Linked DNA regions of Homo sapiens: all the other regions are linked to region 2. Evidence: promoter capture Hi-C in 16 types of primary human blood cells and fetal thymus (Javierre and others, 2016). All regions are on one chromosome and are shown on one strand. The core of a region is centred on a gene start or on the middle of the fragment in contact, and the rest is flanking DNA. Distances in the headings are between cores, read along the strand shown. Region 1 overlaps ERLIN2 (ER lipid raft associated 2). Region 2 holds the start of TTI2 (TELO2 interacting protein 2). Region 3 has its middle 79 kb from the start of EXTL3-AS1.

The links. The method cuts DNA at HindIII sites, captures the fragments that hold promoters and counts their contacts. A CHiCAGO score of 5 or more calls a contact.
Region 1: a contact is called between a fragment that was not itself captured here and the fragment with the promoter of TTI2 in region 2, in 1 of 17 cell types (naive CD8 T cells). The highest score is 7.5, in naive CD8 T cells.
Region 3: a fragment that was not itself captured here is called in contact with the fragment with the promoter of TTI2 in region 2 in 1 of 17 cell types (activated CD4 T cells); the score reaches 5.4 in activated CD4 T cells.

What each region holds. Positions count from the first base shown.
Region 1 is chr8:37,744,494-37,749,322 of GRCh38, forward strand. It overlaps ERLIN2 (ER lipid raft associated 2), which reads left to right. Exons shown (of 12, transcript NM_007175.8): 6 at 78-203. It also overlaps the pseudogene LOC728024. Among named protein-coding and RNA genes, the nearest start is that of ERLIN2, 10 kb to the left of the region's middle. The HindIII fragment of the contact is 1,737 bases long and covers 2,299-4,035 here.
Region 2 is chr8:33,511,479-33,515,873 of GRCh38, forward strand. TTI2 (TELO2 interacting protein 2) reads right to left here and starts at 1,657. Exons shown (of 8, transcript NM_001102401.4): 1 at 1,604-1,657; 2 at 489-1,234. The coding sequence starts at 1,135. It overlaps SNORD13 (small nucleolar RNA, C/D box 13), which reads left to right and starts at 1,997; the gene lies at 1,997-2,100. RefSeq lists enhancers at 1,689-1,828, 3,349-3,638 and a silencer at 2,259-2,308. The HindIII fragment of the contact is 19,476 bases long and covers 1-4,395 here.
Region 3 is chr8:28,620,116-28,624,540 of GRCh38, forward strand. It overlaps a transcript of EXTL3 not described here. Among named protein-coding and RNA genes, the nearest start is that of EXTL3-AS1, 79 kb to the right of the region's middle. RefSeq lists silencers at 2,025-2,461, 2,383-2,642. The HindIII fragment of the contact is 1,685 bases long and covers 2,079-3,763 here.

The DNA of each region.
Region 1 (4,829 bases), core at 1,917-4,416, 4.2 Mb after region 2:
GAAAAGGAGAGCTGCCGTGTCTGAGGGCATTTTGAGTCTTGCCTTTTCTTATGCCAAGCCCTCTCCTTCCCTCTCAGTGTATGATATAGTGAAGAACTATACTGCTGACTATGACAAGGCCCTCATCTTCAACAAGATCCACCACGAACTGAACCAGTTCTGCAGTGTGCACACGCTTCAAGAGGTCTACATTGAGCTGTTTGGTAAGAAAGTCTCTCCTGAGCATGCCGTGCTTAAGCAGGGTTCCTGGAACCCCGCGTCTCTCCACTGCCTAAAGCCTGGCTGCCTGCAGGGTGTGATGGTCACTTATGGACAGGAAATGTTAAAGAATCTTGTGCTCAGGAGCTGGTCACAAAGGAGTTCATGGAGAATGCTGATAGCTATGCAACAAGATCCTTAGAGGGCTGGAGCTTTGGGCACAGGGACCATAGTGGAGTAGAGTATTCACTTCTGGCCTCAATCAGAGGCTGGAGTGGAAATGTGTTCCCACTGTTCCTAAACTATCATTCTATAATGAAGACAAGGTCCATTCTAGAAGAACCTTAGAGATTGTCCAGACCAGCATCCTCATTTTAAGCTGAGGGTACTGTGACCCAAAGCAAGAAAGTCACAGAGCCAGATGCCAATTAGTAGTGGGGCTGAAACAGGAGCCTTCCTCTCCTGGCTCTTCAGCATTCTTCTCACCATGCAACACTGAATGGAGGGCCCCCAGGAATGGGTGATGAAAAAGACATGATTCATAGTTAATTCTAGAAGTGAGATGAGAACCATAGCTCCTTCCAGTTCTCAGAACCTTTGTGATTATTATTTTTTTACTCTGTACCTGTAGCAACGAATAGAAAAACACTTTAAACAAAAAGATTCCACGTGCCTAAGTAGATATGTTTTGTCCTTTTTACCTTTTTCAAAGTAAAGGCAACCTGACTTAGCAGCAAAGGAAGGACACAGTTGGGTAACTGTTATAACTTGTTTGCAGTCAAGTATTCTGTTTAAACTCACTGCCAGAAATTCTCTAATAGCCAATGCCAAAAGTAAATGAATTTTTAACCAATAGTATAACTGTTCTTGACACTAGGACTGGAAAATGATTTTTCCCAGGAATCTTCATAAAAGGGACCCTGAGCAAGAACATTTTTCATAGCAGACAGGAGGACTCATCCACATCGCCAGCAATCATAATTAAGCAAACCGCCTTTTGCACCATTTAAGATTTAGGAAATCATCCAAATTACTTTTAATGTTTCTGCAGTAGAAAATGAATCTAAATTCATTTTATAGGGTTTGTAGTCTTTTATCTGTTTTGGATTCACTGTGCTTTTAAGAAAAAGTTGGTAAATTTGCCGTTGATTTTTCTTTTTAACCTCAAACTAATAGAATTTTATAAAATATTAATTTTCTCTAGCCATTGTCTTAGGACTTGTGACATTACATGAACATTTCAAAGCACTGAAAAAAGACAAAGGATCCCTAATGTCCCTGAAGAGGAAATTAAAATACAAAGTTGTTTTTCATTAGCAAACTTCTTACTTTCTTACAGCTAAACTTGGTAGCTTAGTGAAGTACAGCTGCTTGTATGGAGGAGCTGGGGAAATATATTTGCTTTGAAACTTTTTTATTTTTACATCTCAGTCTTGCTAGCAAGCACTACTTGGCTTAGAATCTGTCATATCCATAAAGGAGGAGCTCATGTCTCTAGTCCTGGCCCTTCAACTCAGAAGGTTCTTCTATACTTTCCTTCTCTCAGGACTCTTATAGCCCAGACTTTAAACATGAAGCTGCATAATTTTCATCACTTCTTACTCTGCCGCATCCTCTTTGCCCATGTTATTAAAGTATTATCTAATACTTTGAAGTTTACCTGAAGAACCTCTTTGTGTGTACTTAGTAATACAACTTTTTTTCCTGTCCCAACACCTTTTAATACAGTTGAATGGATAAAAACATGGATACAAACACATGGATATAGTTATCACTGAAGCAGTGTGACATAAAATAATACCTATGTATACAACACTCCTCTGTAAATAGCAAATGTAAAGTAAAAGATACACAACAGATCATTTTGTTTATCTCACTATCATTTATTAATCTATAATGTATCCCTCCTATGTATCCATGCAAGGAAGCAATACTAGCTGCCCGACTAGAGGGCAGCTCCCTTGGGTTACTTATTCAGACCCCATTTTCATTCGGATCTGAGCTGTCTTACCCGCTCACTGCAACTTGGCTTTTCCTTCTTTGAGTATAAAGTCTGACATGGGATGGCTCACCTATAGCTTCAGTGTGTTAAGTAAAGAAAGCTTTATGCAGATTCTGGTTTTTAGTGGGTCTCCTCTGACAGTAGAAAGATTCAAACCACAACCAATTCCAAGAACCCTTCTAAGAACAGAGACAGAGTCACTTCAAAGGATCTGACTTGCTATACCTAAATATAATTCACGCTGCTTTTCTCTATGACGTACCATAATATTTTGTCCAAAAATCTTGAAACATGTTATTAACTTTGAAGAAAGAATAAAACCAGCCACTTTAGAGACCAGAGACACTCAAGCACTTATCTATTCATAAAGTTTCTACACAGCTGAAGAAGTTTGCATCAAATGGACAAAAAATAGTAAAGAAAATCTAAATACAGAAAAAAAATTAGAGAAAAATCCATCTCCTAGAAAGCAGGTCAAATGGACTCAGTTAAAGACCTCACTGCATGTAGGAGAATCAATGGGAAACAACATAAAGCCTTCTGCTGGGATATAAATAGGAACCAGTCTATGTAATCAAGAAGTTACTTTGTCTCCTGATCTAAATGCTTGCCTCCAGTCTAGGGCTCAGAAAAAAAGCCTGGTTATTTGAACTGGTTGTCAATCAAGGTCCCCTTCATTTTCACTTTCTTGGCTTCCCATTCAGCCAGCTCTTGCAGTGGCCTCTTGCTCATGCCTTTGCGCTCCAGCTGTTTTTCAATCACTTTGGCATTCTGTGCATACGAGTCAGCAACTTCCCTAGCCTCAATCTCCTCTTCCTCTTCATCAATGGTAGACACAGTGACAGAACTGAACTTGCCCATGTCTTTGGTCCGTTTGGTCATCATCACCTTCTTAGGAGGCTCTTGTTTCTGAGTATATATGTTCGTTTTCCCAAAGCCCTGGCCAAACTTGACGACTGCTCCATCCACAATGAAGGTAACGGGAGCATTCTTCGGCTGGGATTGGTAGAAGAGCAGCAGTCCACACTTTGCACATTTCTTTCTGTACTGTAGTTCAATGCCTTCAGGTCTCCGCAGATACATAGTCTCTTCGTCTTCTGTGTTACAAAACTTATGGGCATGTTTGGCAGCATCAATCACACGGGACCGGTCCCGGGGCCTCATGGGCAATTTCTCTAACTGACAGTCCAGCACTAGGACCACCTGGCCGCACAAACAGTAGTACACATGGAGGGGCTTCTCGCCGTCGTCATATTCCTCCCGGTCCCGAGTGTCAGAGCAGACTACTGACCGAGACACTACTTTCGGCATGGTTTCCAGGAGCAACCTGAAAAACTCTACGCAAAGAAGAGGGTCGCGCCGAAATGACGTCACGAGCGCGCCTTGCGCCTTTTCCCTGCGGCTACCTTAGTAATACAATTTAAATGGCATTTATCAACATTTCCATAACATATAAACATCAATATTACTAAAACAACTTGAAAAGTATTTCTTTCACATTTTTCCGGTAAGCTACTAGCCCAGGGCCACAGGTTTCCACCTTGACAGATATAATTTGGTCTGAGGAATGACGTTATTAACTTATGGAGGATACGGGCCATTTAAAGTTTGGTTGGTATTCTACTTAAAATTACTTAAAATATGAAATGTAATATTTAGTTCTAGTTGTTAAATTGGTTGACCCCTGGCAGGTGTGAGGTGCCGACTTGATGGCATTTCTCCTTCGGTGCTCAGAGGCTTGTGAGAGCACATCCTATATGTGGAAACGTTACCGTCCCTTGTTTACTGATACTACTGTCTTAAAATCCTAACAATCAAGGCCCACCAGTTAAACAAGCTTGTTATTTTTGCTACTAGCCAGCTTTCATGGGCCTCCGTTTTGGCATCAGTGAAAGAGCGGAGACTTTCTCTTCCTCAGAGGCTCTTATTTGAGCACAGGTGACCACGAAAGGACCACTTAAAGCAGATGGCGGCTGACAGCAAAGGAGAGATGCAGTGTACAAGTCCCAGCCTGATTTCACTCTGTCTTTTTCTCTAAGCCCCTCCGGGATCTTATCAAGGATATCATGGGCAGAAGGCAAGGAAGAGGATTCTAAAACCTGAGAAGCCCATGCCAGAGAAGTCAGCTTTGGTACTGCTGTTCTGAGATTGCAGCTGGAAAGGAAGGTGGGGGGAGAGTCAGTTACAGCTGTTCCTACATTTGTCTGTGAAACAACTCATGTGGATTCCAGACAAAGAAATCAGGACCAAAGCAAACAGCACATCAAAAGCCTGGGGCTCGCTTCCAGAACTGTAAATTTTAATTTTCCCTTTGTGTTGTTTGATGGAGTTCCTAATAGAAACAGTCTTCCTTGGGGCTCTCCTTGACGTCAAAGTCTGTTTTTCTTTTAGAAACTTCTAAAATTACTAGATTTAATGTGCTCAGCTCTTTCCACAAAACCTAAATAGCCATTCCACCTTCCTTCTTCTTGGAAACTGTGAACCTTCCTTCTCTTTTGCTGCTATTGTCTAGGGAAAGGCTGCTGCCTCACGCAAGAAATGTGCTAGAATTGTTTGTTCTTCCTTTTTTTTCTTTTTAAGCTCTCACCCCCTGTAGGGCATGGTTAGTATTTTCAGAACAAAGGTTGAG
Region 2 (4,395 bases), core at 407-2,906:
AGTTATGTCATTTATAGCAAATCACAACGTTTCTGGGCCTTAAGAGATCCGTGGTTACAGCACCCTTATTTTACTGCTGAAGAAATTGAGCTTCCTTTGAGGTATAACGCTATAAAAAATTAAGCTAGGGCAGGCGCAGTGGCTCACGCCTGTAATCCCAGCATTTTGGGAGCCCGAGGCGGGTGGATCACTTGAGGTCAAGAGTTCAAGACCAGCCTGGCCAACATGGTGAAACCCCGTCTCTACTAAAAATACAAAAAATCAGCCAGGCGTGGTGACGGGCAACTGTAATCCCAGCTACTCCGAAGGCTGACACAGGAGAATCGCTTGAACCCAGGAGGCGGAGGTTGCAGTGAGCTGAGATCGCAACATTGCACTCCACCCTGGGCAACAAGAGTGAAACTCTGTCTCGAAAATAAATAAATAATAAAAAATAAAAATAAAAAACTGTGAGGCTCAAGTCGGTGGCAAAGGGCAGGAGTACTCACTTATACAAGTCGGGTTTGAGAAGCCCTAGTATCACCGAAAGTCTCCCTTTCTCATCTTCATTTTCTCCATGTAGGAATCCTGCCACAGAACCGCATTCAGTAACTTGAAGCAGTGAGGTGAGCACCTCCCTAGCAACTTCCCGAGATCTCGGAGTGGTCCATGGTTGCTCCAAGCTGTGTGTGATGGCAAAAATATAAACGGGTCCTGCCAAGTGATGCAGGCCCGTCTGCCATGCAGGGCCGACCAGGGAATTCTTAGCAGTCTCAACTTTCCCTAACAGTTTAAGAAACAGTAACCCAACTTGGGCTGCTTTCTCGGCCGCTTCGGAGTGCCCATCACCTCCACCTTCCTCCTCCTTGGAGGGGGCTGCATACTTCTCCAGGGCTTTTGCTACCTGCCCCAGTGTCTCCGGCATTCCGCGGAGCCGTGCACCAGTCCCCTCAAATAACCTATCAAATTCTGTGGCTTCTATTAGATCACCGAGGTCTTTAAGAACTGCATCTTTTACATTGCCTCGTCGTGCCTCCGGGCGGGCAAGACAGTGTAAAATCTTGGAGAAGGCCTGTCCAAAGGCGGAGTGAGACAACTCCTCGGACAAATTAGAGTCTTCCTGCGATGGGGCTTCCAGAGCGCTGTCAAGCTCCATTCCTGACTGCAGCACCAGAAGGCTGGTCTCTCCCACAGAACGAGGATGGAGGCGGGGAGGGATCCGTTGAAGAGGGAAGGAGCGATCACCCAAAGAGAACTAAAATCAAATAAAATAAAACAGAGAGATGTCTTGGAGGAGGGGGCGAGTCTGACCGGGATAAGAATAAAGAGAAAGGGTGAACCCGGGAGGCGGAGTTTGCAGTGAGCCGAGATCGCGCCACTGCACTCCAGCCTGGGCGACAGAGTGAGACTCCGTCTCAGTAAAAAAAAAAAAAAAAAAAAGAATAAAGAGGAAAGGACGCAAGAAAGGGAAAGGGGACTCTCAGGGAGTAAAAGAGTCTTACACTTTTAACAGTGACGTTAAAAGACTACTGTTGCCTTTCTGAAGACTAAAAAGAAAAAAAACTTAAAAATTTAAAGAAATAAACTTCTGAGCCATGTCACCAACTTAACCACCCCCAGGTACCTGCAACGGCTCGCGCCCGCCGGTGTCTAACAGGATCCGGACCTAGCTCATATTGCTGCCGCAAAACGCAAGGCTAGCTTCCGCCAGTACTGCCGCAACACCTTCTTATTTCACGACGTATGGTCGTAAAGCAATAAAGATCCAGGCTCGGGAAAATGACGGAGAGGTGGAACTATAGAGAATAAATTTGCATATATAATAATCCGCTCGCTAATTGTGTTTCTGTTTTCCTTTGCTAAGGTAGAAACAAAAGAATAATCACAGAATCTCAGTGGGACTTTGAAAATATCCAGGATTTTATACGTGAAGAATGGATGTATCGCATTACGGTAGTCACCCTATGTGTAAATTAGTGGCACATACTTGGCACTCCTTAATGTCAACTATAAGATGATCCTTTTGTAGTTCATGAGCGTGATGATTGGGTGTTCATACGCTTGTGTGAGATGTGCCACCCTTGAACCTTGTTACGACGTGGGCACATTACCCGTCTGACCTGAACTTCAAGGATCGATTTAACACTTGTATTTGTGGGCTTGTTACTTATGATAACAGGTGGCCTAGTTTCATGGCTTTGTGTTTACCGTTTTCGGGTGCCCTTTTTTCTGGCTGTATGCTACACGCACGGGTGCTTTTCCGTTGTCCAACTGTGTAATGTGTTTTTGTGTTTGTTCTTTTGTGAGTCGGAGTCTCGCGTTGTCGCCAGGCTGGAGTTGCAGTGTTGCGATCTCGGCTCACTGCAACCCCCACCTCCGGTTTTCGAGAGATTGTCCTACCTCAGCCTCCCGAGTAGCTGGGACTATAGGCGCGCGCCACCACGCCCAGCTAATTTTTGTATAAATATTGGCAAGGATGGTCTCGATCTCTTGACCTCGTGATGCGCCCGCCTCGGCCTCCCAAAGGGCTGGGATTACAGGCGTGAGCCACCGCGCCTGGCCAATGCAGAGCTTTTTAATGGCTTTAATTTTTTAGGTTTGGGAGATACCTGCGCAGGTTTGTTACCTGGATATGTTGTGGGATGCTGGGATTTGGAGTGCAGCTTAGCCCGTTTTCATTGCCCCCTCTAGTAGACCACAGTGTCTGTTGTTGCCACTTTTATGTCCACGTGTTCCTAATGTTTAGCTCCCACTTATGAATGAGAGCATGCGGTATTTGGTTTTCTGTTCAATGCAATACTTTAGCTGGTTTCTGGAGCTAGCGTTTTAAAGCCTGTAGCCACAAGCGTTTGAAAATTCAAATTCTAGCGTCAAGGTAGAAGCCCCCAGCTGGCGTCTGGGGCAGCCCTGAGGGAGGTGGGTCGTCGGGTTGGCGGATCCGGCTTGGGCCCGCCCCGCCAGTGTCGGCGCCGGGTGCGCAGGGACAGCAGAGCGCTGTCTTGGGCATGGGTCGCAGGCGGCGCCCGGAACGGGCCAGGGGAGCTGGAGGCTGCAGACTCGGGCTCGGCGGGTGTAGGAACCAGTGGTGTTTGCTTGGGTTTTGAGAAGGCGCGAGAAGGGTCGCGCCTGTGCGACCGCCCTGTGTTGGGTCCCCCACGCCGCGTCGGCATTGCTTGTTCCCTCTTCCTGCGCTTTCCTGGAGGGTAGAATTGCGTCCGATTGGCCTTCAGTTCCCGAGGAGCTGCTTCCATTTAGGACCTTGTGACTCTCATAGCTTCCACGGTTTCGCAGGAGCCCGAGGAGGCAAACTTCATTTGTGCCACTGCACAGGCGGGAGCTTCGGACCCTGGGAGGGGTGGCGCGAGAGAGACGTGTCGCCAGCTGCTCGGAGAGGGACTCTTATTCAGCCTCTAAGGCGTCAATTGCGCCTCCAGGGTTCCAGGAGTCCAGAGAAAGCCCTTCGGGGTCTTCTGACCTGGGGTAGGGTGAGGGGCGTGTGTGCGCGCAGGGGCGAGGGAGGGGTGACGTGTCAGGTGTCCTTTGTCCTCGCGAGGAGGTGGTTATGGGGTAGAGGGACATACAGTATTTTCGTCCCACCTTGGGGAGCGCACCAGCTTCTTGGTGCACTACTTGCAACTGTCCCATCTGCGGTGTCTTGCTGCCTACTCGCCTGCCCTTCTTTCCATTTTGCTGTCTGACCTTGGGCAAAAGTTCGGTAGCCTCTCTGTGCCTTCATTTCTTTTTATTTTTTATTTAATTAAAAAATATTTTTTTAGAGACAGGGTCTTGCTCCGTGGCCCAGGCAGGAGTGCAGTGGCGTCATCGTATCTCACTGCAGCTTCAAACTCCTGGGTTCAAGCGATCCTCCCGCCTCAGTCTCCCAGTAACTGGGACCACAGGCGCGCCCTACCACACCCTACTAATATTTTCTAATTTTTTTGTAGAAATGGGGTCTCGCTGTATTACCCAGGCTAATCTCGAGCTCCTGGCCTCGCGATCCTCCCTCCTTGGCCTCCTAAAGCGCTTAGATTACAGGTGTGAACCACCCACCTCGCTGGTGCCTTAATTTTTTTTTTCTTTTTCTTTTATTTTTCCTTCCTTCCTTCCTTCCTTCCTTCCTTCCTTCCTTCCTTCCTTCCTTCCTTCCTTCCTTCTTCCTTCTTCCTTCTTCCTTCTTTCTTTTCTTTCTTGTCTCCCTGTCGCCCAGGCTGGAGTGCAGTGGTGTGATCTTGGCTTATAGCAACCTCTGCCTCCCAGGTTCAAGCGATTCTCATGCCTCAGCCTCTCGAGTAACTGGGATTACAGGCACCCACCACGCCCAGCTAATTTTGTATTTTTACCAGACACGGAGTTTCACCATGTTGGCCAGGCTGGTCTCTAAATCTTGACCTCAAGTTATCCACCTGCCTTGGCTTC
Region 3 (4,425 bases), core at 1,671-4,170, 4.9 Mb before region 2:
GCCCGCCTCGGCCTCCCAAAGTGCTGGGATTACAGGTGTGAGCCACCGCGCCTGGCCGGCTTCTGATTCTTGCAGACAGACTCCTGCAAGAAAAAAACTGATCCCACAGTGCCAGGCAGGGCTTCATTTCTCTGAGATCTGCTAGGTCCCCACCACCTCAGCAGGCAGGGCCAGTGCTTCCTAACATTGTAGAACTTCTCATTTCACCCCTGTGGTCAGGCTAACTGAGAGAGGGCTCAGTTCACAAGCACATTCTGCAGGCTCCTATGGAACTTGAACTAGAGCTCTGAGTTCTTCAGCAGGATGGATTGTGTGTGCCATCCAAGAATGGGGATGCTGTTTCCCATAACTGCCAACCCCTGTCCTCTCATGTTCCTGAGGTTCAAATGCAAGAGATGCTGCCCCTACACCGGTCTCAGGCATTTGGACCGGAATCCAGGCACATTACATACCCCATGTAGGCTTCATGGCCTCTAGGCTGTCTTAGCTCATTAACATCTCGCAGTTAAACTGGAAAGGCCAGAAAGGTGTTAAACAGAAACAAAAACACTGTAATCAATTTGGTTTGACTATATTTAACCGTTTAGCTTTTCTTTTGTTTTCTTTTCTTTTTTTTAAGAGATAGGGTCTCACTCTATCACTCAGCCTGTAGTACAGTGATGTAATCATTAGCTCACTGCAGCCCTGAACTCCTAGGCTCAAGTGATCCTCCTGCCTCAGCCTACTAAGTAGCTGGGGCTATGGTGGGCACCATCATGCCTGGATAACTTGCTTATTTTTGTAGAGACTGGGTCTGGCTATCTTGCCCAGGCTGGTCTCTAACTTCTGAGCTCAAGCGATCCTCCCCTCTCAGCCTCCCAAAGTGCTGGGATTTCAGATGTGAGCCACAGTGCCCATTGTTGGCTTTTTGATACATTTAAGATCATGTACATTACTGTTAATTATGATTGTTTTTGTCATTCAGTGTGTGTGATTTTCCAAAGATTACACTTTGAATCTCCAGGTGTGCACTGAATTGTCCCCCTCCTTCCCCACTGACAGGCTGAAGTCCTAAGCCCCAGTACCTCAGAATATGACCTTATTTGGAAATCAGATGATTGCAGATGTAATTAGTTAAGATGAGGGCATGCTGGAGTAGGGTAGGGTGGGCCCCAAATCTAATATGACTGGTGTTCTTATAAAAGGGGGATATATTTGGACACAGGAAAAATGCCACGTGTACATGAAGCTGGCCATCTACAACCCAGGAGAGAGGCCTGAAACAATCTTTCCTCACAGTCATCAGAACTGGAACCAACACTGCCCACACCTTGAACACAGGCTTCCAGCGTCCAGGACTGTGAGACAGCACACGTCTGCTGATTTAGCCCCCTAGCTTATGGCACTTTCTGACAGCAGCGCTAGCTAACCAATACACTCCCTGCTAAATGTACTTTTCCATTTGTGCCCCACCAGGGTTTGCAGACAAGCAAAATTGTCATAGTTCCCTAACGCCTCAGAATGTTTTCTTCCTGGATCACTTTTTATAATTATTACTTACAGTGAGGGAAAACTGAAATATTGCAATGCCATCCACAATTAGGATTAGTCCCAACCACTCAGAAACGTTAAAAACTGATCTAATAAAAATAAAGAACCTTAAGACGCATTAAACTCTAAGCTACTTGGAAGCTGCTTCTTCTGTTTGTGGACACGCAGATTTGCCACAGTTGAAATCACTGGCCACGTGCTGTCTTGTGTGTGTTTGTCACTTAACATCGCATGACAGAAATATTTCCACGTAGTGACAATGTTCATATTCTTATTTAAATAGCGACTTACTAGTCATTTGTTATATTCTCATTTTTCACTACATTTTTGTGTAATTTATTTTTTAACTGCATTTAAACTTTTTCCTCGGGGCATGTACGGGAAGAGTTCTGGATTCCAATTTTAGCCCCTGTCACACAGAACCCCGTTCTTCTCTAGACTGAGCTGACCTGTGGTTTCCCCAGAAATAAAAACGACGCGTGCAGGTTTCTCCCTCCCCTTGACGTCATTTCGTTTGATCCTTTGTAATGATTTTCCCTAGTTTCGAAAGCTTGCCCTAGTCTTAACGCTGTTTTCGCGTTTCCTTATGTCGCTAAGCGGGAGGTAGCCCCGCACTCTAAGCATCCGGCTCATTTTCATGTTTTACCGGACCCCAGCGACCGGCGCCCTCTGCGCTAGGCGCCCGGTGCCGTATAGCCCTCCGCCGTGTGCAGCCGGGTGCTGGTGTTGTTGCAGCGGCGCCCGCCAGGAGGCAGCGCAGGCTCGGCATTGGCTGCGGCGTCCCACAATGCACCGGGCTCTGGGGCCTGCACGACAGTCTTGAACCCAGCTGCGGGGCCGCGAGAAGGCGGGCCCGGGAGCCGGCGAGGGCGGGGCCTCCGAGGAAAGGGCCGGGAGCCGACGCGGAGGCGGTGGGCGGGGCGTTAGGGGGCGGGGCCGGGAGCCGCCGAGGGGGCGGTGGGCGGGGTATTCGGGGGGCGGAGCCGGGAGCCTCCCAGGGGGCAGTGGGTGGGACCGGGAGCCGGCCGGCCGGGCCGGGGATGCGGTGAGCCGAGGGCGGGGCCTCAGGGGGCGGGACCGTGGAGAGGGCGGGGCCGGGCCGCTGGCGCTGTCGCCGGCTGCAGTGGCCGCCGCTGGAGACCGCGGGACCTGGCGCTGCAGCGAGGTAGGGGCTCTTCGGGATCTTCCCTTTCGGGGGTGGGAAGTCTTTTCTTCGTCGTGCCAACGGGAGAAGCGGCGAGCTGCTAAAATTTAGAGACGGCTTCGCACTTCTCGCTGTAGCCCGGGCTTTACCCGGGGGATCGATTTTAAAACTCTTTGTCTGGCCCCGTCGTCCTGCCCGCGGGCCGGACGTGGGGCGCCTGCTCTGGGCGTCTGGGGCGGGCGATTGCAAGCTCGCGGTCCATGTCCCCTGCCTCGGAGTGTGGACGTGAACTCCGGGGTGGGCTGGGCTGGGTTTCTACAGAGGCGGGAATTTGTGAGAACTGGGAGAGTGTGGCTGTCGGCAGGGGTCCGTATCACACTGTGGGCGGGGGTCCCGACCCCTGCTGCCTCGGGTACGGGGTAAGCGGCATCTGCCACGCGCCCGCCTCGCGCGCTGTCAGGAGGCGCTGTCCCCGTGGGTAAGCCCGTGCCGTGGGTGCCCTCCAGTCCCTGCAGCCCCAAACACACCTACCCCAGAGGACACCACAGAATGCGGACCCCAAAGCCAGCCGTACCTGCGAGCCCCTCAGCACAGCTGACTTTAATTTGGGATCCCACAATTTGAGCTTTTCAAAAGTTAAGTTTGGCAGATTGGAAGCCCGGGAATAGGGGGCGCTCGGAATGCTGAGTTTTGTTGGTGTTTGTCCTCAGCCTGTTTCTGGGTCACCCTGCAGGGCTCCATCCGTTCAGTCTCACCCCTTGGTAAGCATGTCCTGTCCTGAAGGCTCCATGCTGAAAGTCTAGACCCCATCTTTGCCTACTTTTCAAGGCTTGGCAAAGCACGTGTGTCTTTTGATCCTTATCCCCCATGTAACATAATTCATGTTTTTAAAGATATGTTTTTATTTAAAACCTTCCCCCTATATTTTCATTCCCATAAATACGAATTGGTTGATTTTACTTGTGAACTCCTTTAGGCATTTAGTAATAAAGGTTATAATTAGGAAAACTGAAAGATATTCATCAGGTAAACATGATCCTCCTTAACAAATTTGCTGCTCGTAAAAGGCAGCAGATGGGAAATCAGGCAAGCTTGGTTTTAAAACGTTTCTGCCTCTGAGAAGGTTGAACTATTAATATTATATTTATTGTTCATTCCAAGTCTAAAATGCTAGCAATGAACTCACATTCCTTTTTTGCTAGACAGTCATACCTGTTGACTTGAGATAATAAGAAAATTCTCCTCATCCCCAGAACTGAAGAAAATTCTTTCCAATTGTTCTCACCTTACCTATCCCCAGGGAAAGGAGATAAGTCTCAGAGTTGTTGGGATTCTAAATATTTTGTTAAGCAGAAATTCCTGCTGGTCCTTAACAAACTCTGAGTACTTTGCTCTGGAATTATCAGTTCTTTTTCAAAATGTGAAATTATGAATTGCCTATTACATACAATATTCCACATCTCACGTTAATATTCATTTAAAAGCATTGTGAGGCCGGGTGTGGTGGCTCACACCTGTAATCCTAGAACATCCGGAGGCCGAGGTGGGAGGATTGCTTGAGCTCAAGAGTTCAAGACCATGCTGGGCAACATGGCGAAACCTCATGTCTACAAAAAATGAAAAAATTAGCCGGCATGGTAGTGAGCACCTGTGGTCTCAGCTACTTGGTAGGCTGAGGTGGGAGGATCACTTGATCCTGGGAGGCAGAGGTTGCAGTGAACTGAGACCACCCCACTGCACCCCAGCCTGGG